Regions from separate parts of the Homo sapiens genome. Here region 2 is linked to region 1. The links are contacts of gene promoters, found by promoter capture Hi-C in blood cells and fetal thymus (Javierre and others, 2016). All regions are on one chromosome and are shown on one strand. The core of a region is centred on a gene start or on the middle of the fragment in contact, and the rest is flanking DNA. Distances in the headings are between cores, read along the strand shown.

Region 1 (3,157 bases), core at 572-3,071:
GTAGTTAACAGTGACAAAACACAAAGCAACTAGCTTGTAATTTCTATTAAAAACTTTAAATATTTTTCCTGTAAAACCACCAAAATAATTTAACAACAACAACAAAAAATCCTAGGGGTATTAACAAAAACCAACTTTTGTATTTGAAAAAACGTCAAAAGGTACATTGAAAACTGACTCCCTAGGAAAGATGAGTTTATTTTACTATTAATTTCAAAGTTCTCATTCACAATTAGCATTTCACTCTTTTATCTTTTAAATAGATACAGGCTTCAGCACCTTTCCAAATATTGAAATTTATTGGTTTTGGTTTCCAATCTATGACTTTTTGTTTAAACTTCTGGATCTATCGATTAAAAAAAAAAAGCAAACAAAAGACAGTCTCTTGTTCAAAAGGGCACGACAATCAGGTACTCCATACCTAAAGTATGTTTTCACTTGTTAAAATGTCTTACACTATTCTAGTAAATATCTCAAACTTAATAGCACCCTAATTTCCTTTCAAATATTGGATAAAAAAGACCTTAGAAAAGATCAGCAGTCTACTAAATTACAAATATAAGTCTAATGAGGAGTGACTACCAATCACTTTACTTTTGGATAAGATTTACACAAGAACACGACTTACTACTAAACTAAAACATGAACCACTATTATTAACTGTATTTTTCTGGTAAGCAATAAATGTCAATGTTAAAAATATTTCAACAAATATGACAAGCCAACTTCAGAGCACGAAGTTGGCAGATAAAATTGACACCACAGCACAATTTCAAAACTATAAGCAACTATTAAACACACACACCACCGCACCGCACCCATTCTTATGTAAACTTTTGGAATAGTCAACTTTGTGAGCCTCACCTTTGTTTTCACCCAGCATAAGGAGAGTTAAAGGTGAGACACCAACTGCAAAAAACCAAAATATCAAAAGATTCAGTTAATGTCCCCACAGGGGAAAGGACTAAAATCTTTAAACGTTAATGTATTTAAGTAATCGAAGGGCAGGGCACTTCCCCAAGCTACAGCCATTTTGGATTCAGACTGTCTTTCGAATTTCACGGGTTGGGGAGAACTAGATTTAAAACAACAGAAAAAAAATAACACTTAAAACATTTCAGGATCGACCAGCTTTCCCTGCCCCTCCAAGGAAAGGAGGTTGGTAGATATCGGATAGACTCAATCTAAGCGAAAACACCTCGCTACCACAGAGAACCGGAAAGCTGGGGGTTAAAACTTTTTTCCCCTCAGATATCCAACATTTGACTTACACTTTTTCCTCCTTAGGTTTTCCTTTGAAGGAAAACAAAAGCCCTTAGCTCTCATTTCAAGAAGGAAAGAAAAAAACCCGTAAGCCAAGTCACTCAACGAGCACCAAGCCGGATCGCCTGGAGAGGAGCCAAAGAGCCGCAGGTGAGCGTTCCGACCCGACGACCGAAGTTAAAGTAGGAGCGCTTTCGCGGAGCCCCGGCGACGCTCGCGTGCAAAGCTCCATGCACGGGGGAGGCGGGGGTGCCGCATCCGAACCACTTGACCCGTGGGCTCCGCTCGCCCCTCTCGGGTCGGACCTATACCCAACCACCTGTGTGAGAGCTTCTTTCAACTAGTTTTAACAGCCCGTTGGTTAGGCACCGGGCGGAGCCCCGCGCCAGAACGACTCCAGGATCTCCTACTGCCCCGTTTCCCAAACTCCCACTCACCGGGCAGCGGCGGAGCTATGGCCAGGGACTAGACGCTGCGTCTGAGGACGCGTCCCCAGCTTGTCGACCCGGCAGAGGCGGCTAGTCCACAACCATAACAAAGCTCTTCCCAAAATGGCTGCCCGGCCCACAAGGTCCAGGAGGGGCAGAGCGGGTGGAGGAGGAGGAGCGACCAGCAGCACGGCCCTCCCATCCCCCGTCCGACCCCGCCTTACACACGCCCACCTGAAGAAGCGCATGCGCAAGGGACTGCTCCGGCGACCCTCCCGGACGCCAGTTCCCTACGCTGCCAACGTTCGGCCTCCAGAACGGCGGTTATGCCCTGCCCCGCCCCCGGCTCCCTTCTTCGCCGCTTGAGGCGGCGCATGGTCACCTCTGCCCCCTACAGAATTGAATCCTCTGCCTTTCCTCGTGCCGCCTGAGGCACGGACAAGCCTAGTTTAGTACGCCCCTTCTAACCCCCTTGCCCACTTCCAGGGCCTGGGCGCGTATGAATGAGTGGGTGGGTATGCATGTGTGTATCCCTTTTTTCTTCACCCTCCCACAGCCCGCCCCTTGGCCAGTGCGCGTCCCGAAACTACCTCTACAAGGACTTGCAAACCGGTTTCGGAGGAACGTGTGTTTTCCGGCCCTTTCCCACCTTCCGCTCCTTACTTCTCGTGTGCGCGTCGTTGAGACTCCAGTCCCCAGCGGGCCACACGGCCTGGCCCCGGAGGCTGCGCGGCTGCGTCGGCCGCGCTACCCGCTGGGAGTAGTAGTTCCCCTGGAGCGCAGGCGTCACTCCCCCGCCCAAGCGAAGGGCGGGATTCCGGCGAGAGCCTGCGCTTGCGACAGTGCCGTTTCTCCTACCTGAAGTCTCATTGGGTATCGCACTACTGGAAGGGGCGGCGCTGCCATGACAGAGAAGGCAATAAAACTGAAGGCCTAGCTCGACTAAAAGCGCTTACTATTAAGGAAGACTTCGCTGTGGCTCCATCCGGCACGGAAAGCTAAACCGTGTAATGGCTGGCAACCAGGAAGCTAGACTACCTAGAATCCGGAGGATTGGAGGGACTGGCCGGCGTGGGCCCCTGAGATCTCCTACTACATGTCTTCAGTTTTATCCATAGACACGGAAGGGCACTAAAATTGCCTGGTGCCATTTCCTGTGAAACAAGTCTAGATAAGAGAAGGGACTTGCCCAAGGTCACATAGCCGAGAAATAAAGCCGAGGGCAGTAGGAGAAATGATCTGACTTTCCGAACCACCCCCAAGCCTAGGGCCCTTATCACCACACCTTTCATGGAAGTGAAAATCCTGCTCTTGTGCTCTTTAACCCTTAATGAAGTTTATAGGTCCCAGCAAAGAAAATGGATGTAAGAACTGGGCTTTTTTCCCCCTCTAAATGATAGTAAAGGGCCCTAATGCAGTGAGATGTGTCCCCATAGGCCTTATAAACCCTGTTTTGCAAAGTAAAA
Region 2 (3,238 bases), core at 262-2,761, 560 kb after region 1:
AGAGCTGTTTGGACAGAAAAGAAGCCAGGATTTGGTTTCTAGGGTTACATAGCCAATTCCAGATGCCTCTTTTGTATGTTCAATAAACTTTTAGTGAGTACTTACTATGTGCCAGGCATTGAACAAGATTAGTAAAATCTTTATCCTCAGGGTAGTCACTAGAAGCTAATATAGCCTCAGTTTTCCTGGTGGGAAAAGATAAGCAAAAGAGCCAGTTGGATTGGACCTTTTGACTCTGCTTGGAAAAAAGGGCTACACAACAGCAATTAGCAGCTGGCTCTTTTGCTCTTTGTCCCCTGCCCAGTGTCACAGAACAGTAGAGTGTTCTGGGCCTACCTTGGAGTCCTGGGCTCACTTGGGCCTAGATCTGACAGGTTGTGTCCTTCCAGTCCTTGCTCATACTCAAGTACAGTATATTCTACTTTAGGTTGGGCCCTGGGCTCTGCTTCCTGTTTTGGAGGCTTGTTGGGGCTGGCTGTGGGCAGGACCTATGTAAACCAAAATAAATAGGACAGTGCAGCATGGACTTCAGAGAATAAGAGCAGTTCAAGAAGTGGGGGCTTGGCCACTGGAACTTTGAAGGAAGGGATCAGCTACGCAAGGACTAGAAGGCACTTTTTGGCAGGAGCAGTGTGTGAATAAGGTGTGGGGTAGGGGTGCTGGTGTTTGTTTCAGGTGTGTCTTACAGGATCACTGAGGCTTCAAATATCCTGGCAAGCTGGTACAAGTGTGTTCTTGCCTAATGGCTTGATGGGGCTTGCTCAATAGTTGTACCGTGGTGTGCAAGGGGCTTCTCTACCTGTGAAGGAGGCACATTGGCTGACCCTTGCCATGTACATGGGTCTCAGACTTGAACTTGGGGCAGCATTCTCTGCATCTGGGTCTGCTGTCAGTTGCTGGTTGCTTCTGAAGATGCTTTTAGTGCCAGTGTCCTCACAGCCATGGGTGGCCTGAGTGGGGAGTGGCCTCAGTGGCCTGGGAGTTGAAGGCAGCTGTATTCTTGCCTCTTGGAAACTCAGCGAAATGTTTGGTTGCTCCATCATTCCATGGAGCTTTTGGAGTGAAGCTTTGGGCCACCAGGACTCCATGCTGTTGGTAGACTTGCTCTTCAGAGGCCCATTTTATTTACCTCTTCCATTGCCCCGCTCAGTTTAGGCAGGTTATTTAATCTCATTAAGCTCTAGTTTTCTCACCTCTTAAATAAGGATAATAACTCTACATAATAGAGTTGCTATGAAGATGATACACTATGACATGTGTGAAGAATTTAGCACAGTGCCTGGCACTTAATAAGCACTTCAAGTGTTAGTTGCCATTATGGTGATTTCTGTGGTCTTCTAGACTTCACCTTTCCCAATTCTCTCTCCTAGACTCCTAGGAAACGGAAATCCAGCAGTGAGACCCAGATCCAGGAGTGTTTCCTGTCTCCTTTTCGGAAACCTTTGAGTCAGCTAACCAATCAACCACCTTGTCTGGACAGCAGTCAGCATGTAAGCCAGAACTGCAACCTGCATGTGTATGTCTGTGCCCAGTCACTCAGCCTAGGTAGACTCCTGTCCCTGTACACTCCCTCAGTGCTTTCTAGAGTGGCCAGAAGACACACATCTGTAGGGGCTTTGGACCTGCCCACAGCTGCTGGGGCCTGCTTAGAGAGGTGTGCCTGACTTGTGCCTGGTTTATAGTAGCTACATGGGCACCAGATATCAGATGGTTCAGATTCCTGAGGAAAGGAGGGTAAAGGAACTAGGATCCTCATGTCAGCTCAGACTCTGACTCTGTATATGACTTTAAGGTGTACCAGAGTCATGTATTTCCTCTAGTAAAGTCAAACTTAATCACCACCATGGCAGGTTCTGTGCATTGCCTCATGTAATTCTCACGTTTTAAGATGAGAAAACAGTCTCAGAAGGGTTAAGTAATTTGCTCAGAGTGGGTGGAGCAGATCTGTCTATCTCCAAAGCTTTTCCACTAAGCTTTATGAGGAATGTTTTGAAGGAAAAGTAGGAATACATAATGGAGATTAGTCATTTGTGCATTCAGCAAACATTTAAAAACGGTTTTGTGGCCGGGTCGGGTGGTTCACGCCTGTAATCACAGCACTTTGGAAGGCTGAGATGGGTGGATCAACTGAGGTTAGGAGTTTGAGACCAGCCTGGCCAACATGGTGAAACCCCGTCTCTACTAAAAATACAAAAATTAACTGGGCATGGTGTCATACCCCTGTAGTCCCAGCTACTCAAGTGAGGCATGAGAATCACTTGAACCCGGGAGGCCGAGGTTGCAGTGAGTCAAGATCACGCCACTGCACTCCAGCCTGGGCAAGAGTGAGACTCGGTCTCAAAAAAAAAAAACAAAAAACAAAAAACAAAACAAAACAACTAAATGAAAACAGTTTTGGGCCAGGCGCAGTGGCTCACGCCTGTAATCCCAACACTTTGGGAGGCCGAGGTGGATGGATCACCTGAGGTCAGGAGTTCAAGACCAGCCTGGCCAACATGGTGAAATCCCGTCTCTATTAAAAATACAGAGAAAATTAGCCAGGCATGGTGGTGCATGCCTGTAATCCCAGCTACTTGGGAGGCTGAGGCAGGAGAATCACTTGAACCCGGGAGGCAGCGGTTGCAGTGAGCCGAGATCATGCCATTGCACTCCAGCCTGGGCGACAAGAGTGAAAATCCGTCCCCAAAACAACAACAAAAAAACAACAGTTTTGTGTAATACTTGATAAATATAGATATATTACATAAGTTATAAAACACAAACACCCGTGAACCCATCATCCAGGACTAGAACATTGTCAAACCCATAATCCCTTTTCCCATCCCCAGAGGTAATCACTATCTTGAATTTTATCCATCATCTTTTGCTTTTATGATAGTTTTAGCATACATATAAAAATCACTAATACAGCCTTGGCAACAGAGTGAGACCACCTCAAAAAAAAAATCACTAATACATTGTTTAATTGGTTCTTTGAACTTTAAAAAATGGTGTTGGGTGGGCATGTTGGTTCATGCCTGTAATCCCAGCATTCTGGGAGGCCAAGGTAGGCGGATAGCTTGAGCTCAGGAGTTTGAGACCAACCCAGGCAACATGGTGAAACCCCATCTCTACCAAAAATACAAAAAAAATTAGCTGGGCATGGTGGCGTGTGCCTGTTGTCCCAGCTACTTGGGAGGCTGACATGGGAGGATCACTTGAGCTTAGGAGGTGGAGGTTGCAGTGAGCTGAGATTGGC

What was found. Contacts are between HindIII fragments. The CHiCAGO score rates a contact against its expected background, and 5 or more counts as called.
Region 2: a fragment that was not itself captured here is called in contact with the fragment with the promoter of GPBP1L1 in region 1 in 1 of 17 cell types (fetal thymus); the score reaches 6.3 in fetal thymus.

The regions. Positions count from the first base shown.
Region 1 is chr1:45,684,712-45,687,868 of GRCh38, forward strand. It overlaps GPBP1L1 (GC-rich promoter binding protein 1 like 1), which reads right to left and starts at 1,822. Exons shown (of 13, transcript NM_021639.5): 1 at 1,701-1,822; 2 at 865-909. RefSeq lists enhancers at 1,438-2,036, 1,663-1,812, 1,873-1,922, 1,993-2,112, 2,133-2,462. The HindIII fragment of the contact is 19,533 bases long and covers 1-3,157 here.
Region 2 is chr1:46,248,630-46,251,867 of GRCh38, forward strand. It overlaps RAD54L (RAD54 like), which reads left to right. Exons shown (of 18, transcript NM_003579.4): 3 at 1,371-1,490. Among named protein-coding and RNA genes, the nearest start is that of RAD54L, 2.5 kb to the left of the region's middle. The HindIII fragment of the contact is 894 bases long and covers 1,065-1,958 here.